2 separate regions of the Homo sapiens genome follow, and region 1 is linked to region 2. Evidence: promoter capture Hi-C in 16 types of primary human blood cells and fetal thymus (Javierre and others, 2016). All regions are on one chromosome and are shown on one strand. Each heading gives the region's core, a stretch centred on a gene start or on the middle of the fragment in contact. The rest is flanking DNA. Distances are from core to core; before and after follow the strand shown.

The links. The method cuts DNA at HindIII sites, captures the fragments that hold promoters and counts their contacts. A CHiCAGO score of 5 or more calls a contact.
Region 1: a fragment that was not itself captured here is called in contact with the fragment with the promoter of KCNT2 in region 2 in 2 of 17 cell types (megakaryocytes and endothelial precursors); the score reaches 8.2 in megakaryocytes.

The regions. Positions count from the first base shown.
Region 1 is chr1:196,367,894-196,372,338 of GRCh38, reverse strand. The region is part of intron 14 of KCNT2 (potassium sodium-activated channel subfamily T member 2); the gene reads left to right. It overlaps LOC124904597 (LINE-1 retrotransposable element ORF2 protein-like), which reads left to right and starts at 1,161. Exons shown (of 2, transcript XR_007067045.1): 1 at 1,161-4,445. The HindIII fragment of the contact is 4,326 bases long and covers 1-3,945 here.
Region 2 is chr1:196,605,755-196,610,534 of GRCh38, reverse strand. It overlaps KCNT2 (potassium sodium-activated channel subfamily T member 2), which reads left to right and starts at 2,095. Exons shown (of 28, transcript NM_198503.5): 1 at 2,095-2,320. The coding sequence starts at 2,226. RefSeq lists an enhancer at 1,244-1,760. The HindIII fragment of the contact is 4,315 bases long and covers 898-4,780 here.

The DNA of each region.
Region 1 (4,445 bases), core at 533-3,032, 240 kb after region 2:
AATTGTTTAGGTGAAGTGTCAAATCAAATAAATCCAGAAAAAGGAAAATTCTTTTTTGAGATTTATTTATAGATGGATAAGTTGTTAATTTAAAAGTAGTAAATACTCAGTGTTATATAAATTAGATTTTACTGTCTTACTTCTGACTGCCTAATTGGGATGGTAAAAGTTTCTTAGGAGCAATTTTCTCAAAGTTGTGAATAGGAATATTTCTATTCTATATACTTACAAGCCTTTAATCTGTGCAATAGGAAGGATGTAACAGGATTAGGAATGACGTTTATCTTCTTTGCAGAAAGTGTTTGTCATTTTGATGCAATTAAATAAAGTACTAAAAATTATTTTAACACCAATTAAGTGAACATTCATAGAACTCATCAAGTGTCTTCATTATTTTTCCGTAACGTCTTCGTACAGACTCAGACAACTGTAATGATGACTATCTAGGCAACTTCATTGTTGTATACATGAGTGATAAAATAAGTCCCATAAACACTATATAACACAGCTCATTACTCATGACTGAAGTTAAATTTCGTTGTGCATCTCCTAGTAAATATTATTTATTGACAAACAGTATTGCCTGGTGAAAAAGAATTATACTTCACATAAGTTAAAAAAAGATTTTAGTGATCCTTAGAATAAGACGTTTCCCAACATACTCTAATGAATTTTGCCTTATTAAAAAAGAAAGCAATGTTGTTGAAAACATTGTTATATAATTAAGGATTTCCTTTAAATAAGAGTGACTTGCAAAATTATTTTACAACTGTGTCACAGTAAATGCTATCATCCACCATAATAACTTCTTATAGTAGATTTATTGAAATAAAACTTACATACTATACAATTCACCCATTTAAAGTGTACAATTCAATATGTTAAAAGTATATTCATAGAATTATCCAACCATCACCATTAAATGATTCCAGAACCACATAAAGAAATTATCTACCCTTTAGCATCACCCTACATTTTCCCCCCACCAATTCTTGCAGCCCTAGGCAACCACAATCTATTTCTGCTTTTATAGATTTACTGCAGCCTCCACAGTAGCTGGGACTATAGTCATGAACCACCATGCCAGGCTTTTTTTTTTTTTTTTTTTTTTTTTTTTTGTAGTGACGGGATTTTGCCATGTTGCCCAGGCTAGTCTCGAACTCCTGGGCTCAAGTGATCCATCTGACTTGGCCTTCCAAAGTGCTGGAATTACAGACCTGAGCCATTAGGCTCAGCTGAAATCATTTTAGTATATTTGGTAATACAGTAAATAAATGAACGTAAAGAATTTTAAATAATTTGGTTTTGCTTTAGATTCAGGGGATATATGTGCATGTTGGTTACTTGGGTGCATTGCATAATGGTAGAGATTGGGCTTCTAGTGTACTGGTCACCCAAATGTTGAACATTGTACATAATGTTTTTCAAGGTTCATTCATATTGTAATATGCACCAGCACTTTATTCCTTTTTACAACTGAATAATATTCCATTGCATGGATATATCACATTTTATTTTTCCACTCATCAGTTGGTGGGTATTTGGGTTGCTTCTAACATTTTCACAATGCTGCTGTTAACATTTGTGAAAAGGTTTTTGTGTAACATAGGCTTTCATTTTCTTGCGTCTATATCTAGGAGTAGAATTGCTGGGTCGTATGGTCACTCTGTTTAGCTTCTTTAGGAACTGTCAGAATATTTTTCCAATAGCACTTTGATTATCATCATCAATATATCAGGATGCTACTTTCTTTACATCATCAGCAGTATTCGTAATTATCCGCGCTTTTTTTTATCATAACCATCCTAGTGGGCATGAAGTGGTCTCTCCAGCAACTTACCCAGTACTCTGACTAATACAATTCCCAAGGCTGATTAAAACTCTTACAATATAACATTTTCTTTTTCTATTTGTTATTATGTTAATTCCAGTTCTAGCTGATCTGTCAGTCATAAATAAATTAGATGACTTCATAGAACTGTGTAATTTATATTTTTAGAGAGTTTATTCTGTATTTTAATGCTTCTCAATTTTTTTCCTCATTTTTCAGACCCGCTCACTTTATTTACATTTGAGTGTTCTGTGCTCTTGGCAGTGGTATGTCTTATTGTTGATTAAATTAGCATTTTTATTTATTTGGCAATCTTGTCAAAAATAAGTTTATTCTCAATGAAAATAAATTTATTCTTCCACAATGGTTGAACTAGTTTACAGTCCCACCAACAGTGTAAAAGTGTTCCTATTTCTCCACATCCTCTCCAGCACCTGTTGTTTCCTGACTTTTTAATGATTGCCATTCTAACTGGTGTGAGATGGTATCTCATTGTGGTTTTGATTTGCATTTCTCTGATGGCCAGTGATGGTGAGCATTTTTTCATGTGTTTTTTGGCTGCATAAATGTCTTCTTTTGAGAAGTGTCTGTTCATGTCCTTCGCAGTGTGGTGATTCCTCAGGGATCTAGAACTAGAAATACCATTTGACCCAGCCATCCCATTACTGGGTATATACCCAAAGGACTATAAATCATGCTGCTATAAAGACACATGCACACATATGTTTATTGCGGCATTATTCACAATAGCAAAGACTTGGAACCAACCCAAATGTCCAACAATGATAGACTGGATTAAGAAAATGTGGCACATATACACCATGGATTATTATGCAGCCATAAAAAAGGATGAGTTCATGTCCTTTGTAGGGACATGGATGAAATTGGAAATCATCATTCTCAGTAAACTATCGCAGGAACAAAAAACCAAACACCACATATTCTCACTCATAGGTGGGAATTGAACAATGAGATCACATGGACACAGGAAGGGGAACATCACATTCTGGGGACTGTTGTGGGGTGGGGGGAGGAGGGAGGGATAGCACTGGGAAATATACCTAATGCTAGATGACGAGTTAGTGGGTGCAGCACACCAGCATGGCACATGTATACATATGTAACTAACCTGCACAATGTGCACATGTACCCTAAAACTTAAAGTATAATAATAAAAAAACAAAAATAAATAAAAAAAAATTTATTCTTTAGAAAAAATCACCTTTGAACATGGACTATAATGATTTCCACAAGGAAATGCTGGATTATCAGTCCAGTTTGTTAACATTCAACTGGCCCATCCTGATTACATTTCAGCTTTATCAGAATTTTAAAAATTTAGCAATTCATTTTCTTTGTCTTTCAATTTGTTTTCACAATACTTAATTAGTCCCATCCATGAGGTAATCTTTTTCACCTCAGTAATAATCGAGGGGTAAGAAAAAGAGAGAATTGATAAGAAAAATACTGCTTAGTTAGAATTCACAGAAGTTTGCCACTGATTAGATATGAGTGTAGAAAAGAGAGAGGGGGAAAAAAAGAAAATCTCCTCACTTATTGACACTGGACAGTAGAAAATAATGAAGTACATAGTTGGCAGAAGGAAAAGTGGTTTGATATTGGATGTATTTGCTTTCTGATGAAGACATAATGTGGTAGGAATTGCTGCACGCTTGGTTCCTGAGGTGGTGGATCGTGCCAGTCAGGCTCACAAATGTGAAGGAGGAAGTAGTAGGGATTTGGGAGAAATGACAATTTGAGACTATTTTCTAGGAATTTATTAATTCTAGGAAATAGAGTGAAGAAAAGGAAAGCAAATATAGTATAGCATAATAAAATAACACTGAGATAGGATTTCTAAAAGGAACTGGATTGTTAACAACATAGATGATTCTAGATTAAGACTGAGCAAGCATTTTGGAGGCTGTTCTCTGAGGACTTCTGAAAAAACAATTTCTACAATGGGGATTTTCTTATTGTGAGAAAATATGAACAAATTAAGGAATGATAAGAAATGAAGTGTGGTTGGAGATTGCTACTTCATTAGGTTTGTTCATTAATCGAAGAAAGAAAAATAATGGAAGTCCTATTGCACAGAAATGTTAAGGAAAGCTTTTTCTATGTACACAAGTATTTATCTATTTTTGTTTGCTTTTAATGTTTAAATTTTAAGTACCACTAAAGAAAAAGAGATTGAAAACGCAGTGAGGGAGTAAAGGATGAGATCCGGAGACTGGAATGCTTCTGCATGATAAAGGGAAAATCATTTATTCCTTAGGAAGTAATGGGTGAGGCAAGTGGTGATTTACACTAATTTTATTTCTGTGGAATAAGGAATATTGCATTAGTTAAAAATGTGTTCTGCCCCATGTAATGTAATATCTCACTGAAAGTAGGGGTGGTGTTTAGTTTACACCTTAAAAACTATGGGTTCAGCATCCAGAGCAGGCTATCTGACTCAGTGACGTCATCAGAGCACGTTGTTCTGTTTTCTTATTCCAACATCTTTACCCTATAGTCTTTACCCTTCAGGATTCTCTTATTGTAATCGTAAAATGCATTCTCTGCTTCAGGCTAGTCTTCTAGGTAAGAAGATGGAAGAATGTCAAAGGGG
Region 2 (4,780 bases), core at 846-3,345:
AAACCAGATCTCTCTCTCTATCTCTATCTGTATAAACTAATAATGTAGCAATATTACTTTCTTATTTAGCAAAGTAATTACAAAAGTTCGTGCTAAATTATGATTTCATAAACAAACACATACCACAGGAGTGCAAGCATGGATGGAAAAAAACATGCTTAATTTCCTAGATTTAATAGCTTTTAATGCAACTCCACACCTATTTGTTGAAATGTGGCTATTTTGAAGGTCCCGTGCTAGAGGCAGCTAAGCCACAGGGAGAGGGGAAGAGTTGAAAGAAAAACGCACAGATAATCGTATAGCGGGTCAGGTTATAGTAAGCATTCCAGGCAAAATACTCACATGGGTTATGAAGGGTTCAAACAAAGGGGTTCAAAGGAAGAAGACATCATAAGAAGCTGGAAAAACCAAGAAATCTAATGGAGGATATGTAATTTGAGATGGGTCTGGAAGGATGAGTAGGATTTTGAAGACAGAGACAAACAGTATGACTTTTATTTCAACTGCTATTCTTCAGGTTTCAGTAGTCATTGTATTTCATTTGATGTTACAAGTTTTGGTAATTTCTTCCTTCATTTCTAGCTTCTTAAATAAACCCTCTGCTACATGACCTCTACTGAGCATTAATCATGCCAAATTAATCACTATTTTCTGGATAAGCCAAATATTCTAAAAAATCCCTATGCCTCTACTCATACTATTCTCTCTGCTTGCTTCACCTTTGCTCTTTTCCCTAAAGTAGGCTGCGAACGAATATAGAAGGCTTGGTTCATTTTCAATGTCTTCCTTGACCCCCACCTCGAAGAAGTATGTGTACCTCACAGGTATTTCCAAATCCCTCTGTATGTTCTTTGATTATTGTCTCTCACATCGTATCCATTTATCAAGGAACAAGCTTGTTCCTCCACACAGAGCGGTTCTTAAGTAAGGGCAGGAGAAGCCATATGGTTATCCTCCGGCCCAGGCTGTCAGGTGGTTGGTATTCGGTCTGTATATACTCTGATGCAATCAGTTTTTGAAGGAAAGAACGGTAAGCGCAAATAGAACCATAGCTTGTGTAGCAGGGTTCATGTAAGCAGTGGTTCTTACTGAAAAACAGACCCTGTTCTCTCGGGCTCACTTCTTCCTCCGTGTGAACCACTAATAGGAGGGGACCGAAGGCTGAGGCCAGGCCACCTGGAAGCCCACAACGCTGCTAGTAGCAGCGACAGCAGTAACAGCAACTCACCACTGTAAAATCCTCAGTGCGTTTCCATGTGCTTTCCCTGTCATCTAAATGCTTCTCTTCAGCGGCCTAAGGTGGCCCTTCTTTTTCCCCGAGTTCAGGGAAACACCTCCCTTCTTTCAGAATGTGAGAAAAAAATGGGATTTTCCTGGGGCTGAGAGTGGGGATTCCCTTTCCAGAAACGTGCAATTTTTTCATCCCGCCCACCTGGACTGAAGGCAATCAAAGCGAGGGAGCTCGTGGCATAGTGGAACACTCCAAGCACCCTGGCCCCCCTCCTCCCAGAGAAGGGTCTGGAGCCCCGCAATCCGCTAATTAGCTCGCCCCCATTGGTTGTCCCCAAGGCACCCCCGTGCCGTCACTGTGCTATGCTAATGAGGGGGAGTCTCATTGGCTGGGCCTCCAGCTCCATCTCCACAGGGAGATTGCGGGGAGAGCCGGGTTGGCCGCGTCTGGGGCCGAAACCCACCGCCCCCGATTCCCGCCAGCTCAGGGCTGTGCCGGATGCAAGCCCGCCCGAGGGAACAGTAGCCGGGAGGCTGCCCTCTGGGAGGATCTGGCAACTGCCTTTAAGGAAAGTGCTTCACCATCAAGCGGCGCTCACTCCCACCCCTCTCCCCTCTTTCTAGGCACCGCGCGTCTTTTTCGGCGAAGTAACTTTTTATACCCGCCTCCCCCTAGTCCTGGGGACCAGAGGCGGTGCCGAGCCTGGGGGCGGTTCCTTGGCAGCGTTGATTCTTGTCAGAGCCAGACTTTTGCTCCTGGGTTGGGTTTGCATCATCCCCATTACACCCTCGGGAAAGAGGAGCCAGCCCCCTTTCAAGCCTTAGCTTCCGGCTCCAAGCGGACCCCCTCCCCCTCCCTGTCCCCTTCCCCTTCTCCCATCCCTCTCTCGGCCACAGCGTCTTGTTAGTCCTCTCCCTGTACTCCGCAATATTTTCTTTCTTTCTCCCTCCTCTCCTCCATTTGTTGTTTGATGTTTCCCACTCTTTGAGGAAGGATGGTTGATTTGGAGAGCGAAGTGCCCCCTCTGCCTCCCAGGTACAGGTTTCGAGATTTGCTGCTAGGGGACCAAGGATGGCAAAACGACGACAGGTGAGTGGTGTGGTGGAGGATTGTTCTGTAAATATTGCTGAAAAAGAGACGGAAATGGGAGGGCCGAAGTGGGGAAAGGAGGGAGAAAAGGAAAACGGAGCCAGAGAGGGAGACTAGGCTGGGGGAGGGAGTAAAAGAGACTCTGATTTGTCTCTCCATTTTGACTCTATATAACTGTTGCTATAGATAAGGAACTCTTTTTCTTTACACTTTTCTTATTCTTGCAAGGTATTTATTGCATTCATTTGGTGCTTATTCTTTTGTCTATCTGTGCTTTTCTAGGATGTGTATAAGGCTGGTATCAGAGGTACAATACACCCAAATGGTATGCAATATCATTTCCAGAAAATTTGCATTTTTTCCTTAGGTGTGGTTAATCAAACTCAAAATTGCATGCAAGTTGTTTGAAAAAGCACATTAGAAACTTAAAATCTCCTGAGTCTATTTACCTCCTCCTTGTCTGTGTTGTCTTGAGTAGGTATCTACTTGGCACTGGAAATTTTATGCTGTTTAAACATTTTGGAGTTTTAAGTAGACAATTGGTTTAAATATGTAACAGGTAGTTAGTGAAAATGACAACCTTTTTAATACAATATACTCACTTTGAACAGGTGACTCTGACCATTATGAATAATGATGTTTGTATAACATGATACAACCTTTTCATAACTAGTATATTTTTTTAACTGAAACAGAATATATGTCTCAAAATTAAAATTAAGTTTCAAAACTAGAATATTTATTGTTAGCAAAATATTGTTCATGTGTTTTATTTATAGCATTACTGCTTTGCACAAACTTCTGAAATTCCTCTGTCTATTTCTGTCTCAAGCACATTTTGTATTTCAGCGAATTTAGTATTTTCTGGAATAGTCATCCCATATATCACATGCCACATTTCTTTGTTTTAAAATAATACATGTATACTAACTAGGTTCTCAACTCAATTGAAATGTTTCATTGAAGTTTAGTTTAGTATTGATGTGCTATTTTAGTTATATAAAAGATCCATTATTGGTCCAATCCAAAATCCCCTCCTCATTCACCACTGACCAATACACTCTATTTCTTTTCTTCACCTTTTCAGCTCCCAATACCAACTCCTGTCTCTACACACTGAGGATTTTATCTTGAGCATCAATTATGGGCATCTTGTTTGGTCTCATATTAGTAATTTGAAAGGAGATGGATGTTTTGTAGAGGATATTTTGGTTCAATCTCTTTTTTAGGCAAAACCACACATATTGGCTAAAAATTTAAAGAAGTAATACCAATTTCTCAGTATTCTTGTAAAGTGTTTGGGTAAACTGAAGATAAAGAAAATAATTTTTAAGTGAATTTGTAATACAAATTGACATTTAGATAAACTGCATTAGCCTGGTTAAATGGCTTAGTAAGTGTAGCATGGTGTTCCTAGTGACTGAATGTATATTTAGTTCAGGACCTCAGGATCATTATATAGAATAGAAATCCTCTTTGTAGAAAGTGTGAGATAGATTAAACACATAAAGCACATACTTTGGTTATAGTGATGGTATTGTTGTTTGTTTGTTTTAAATATCATATCCAATATGTTAATTTTCATGTGGTTGCCCTCATTTTTCTAAGGATGCTGCAGAAATATTTTAGTAATTAAGAATTTTGGTTAGTTGAACACTGCCTAAATGGATCAGTGCCATATTAAAAAAGTTTTGCAGAATGGTTAAAATTTTATGTTCTATTAAAAGGTTATGCTAGCCCAACTTTAACTTAAAAAGCAGGCCACATTTACTACTAAAATAAGTTATTAAATATTTAAAACAATCATTCAACCATTTTTAAGGATTTGGCTACTTTTGTGGCTTCATGGAAAACTATTCTTTGGTTTTGGTTCCATTTGTTGTTAATCTTTGAAGGCAAGATACTTGGAATCAGAGAAACCCAGATTCAGTCCTTGGCTGTTTCCTTCACTAGCTGAGTGGCCTTGGGAAAGTCATTCAGCCATTATGAGATTCAGCAATATTATTTTTTATAATGGGAATTATACTGTCTACCTTATAAAACTGTGACAAGAGGAAGGATGGAGAGGCGCAGAACTAACATTTAGTTGGAAATAAGTACTCCCAAGTTCTTTTAACTGTGCGGTATGTTCTTTCTTAGTTAATCCTCAGACAAACTCTGAATAGCAGGCAATTATGTTAGGCACAAGGAAACTGAAATTTTGGTAAATTAAATACGTGTCTTGGATATTATATCTTATCAGTGTAAAGATAACTCTTCAGTTCAGTTTATTATTATTCAAATCCCTCAAGAAATTCTTAAGTTCTTTTCACTTAATTTATTTGAACTTATAAGAATAATTTACAGCACCTAGCATAGTTTAGGTGCTCATTAAATATTAGTTCCCTTCTTCACTTCTGATTTGCCCTTTGCAATCCTTTTTTTCTCCCTTTTCAGACTCCTAAGCTAATATGTGGTAGG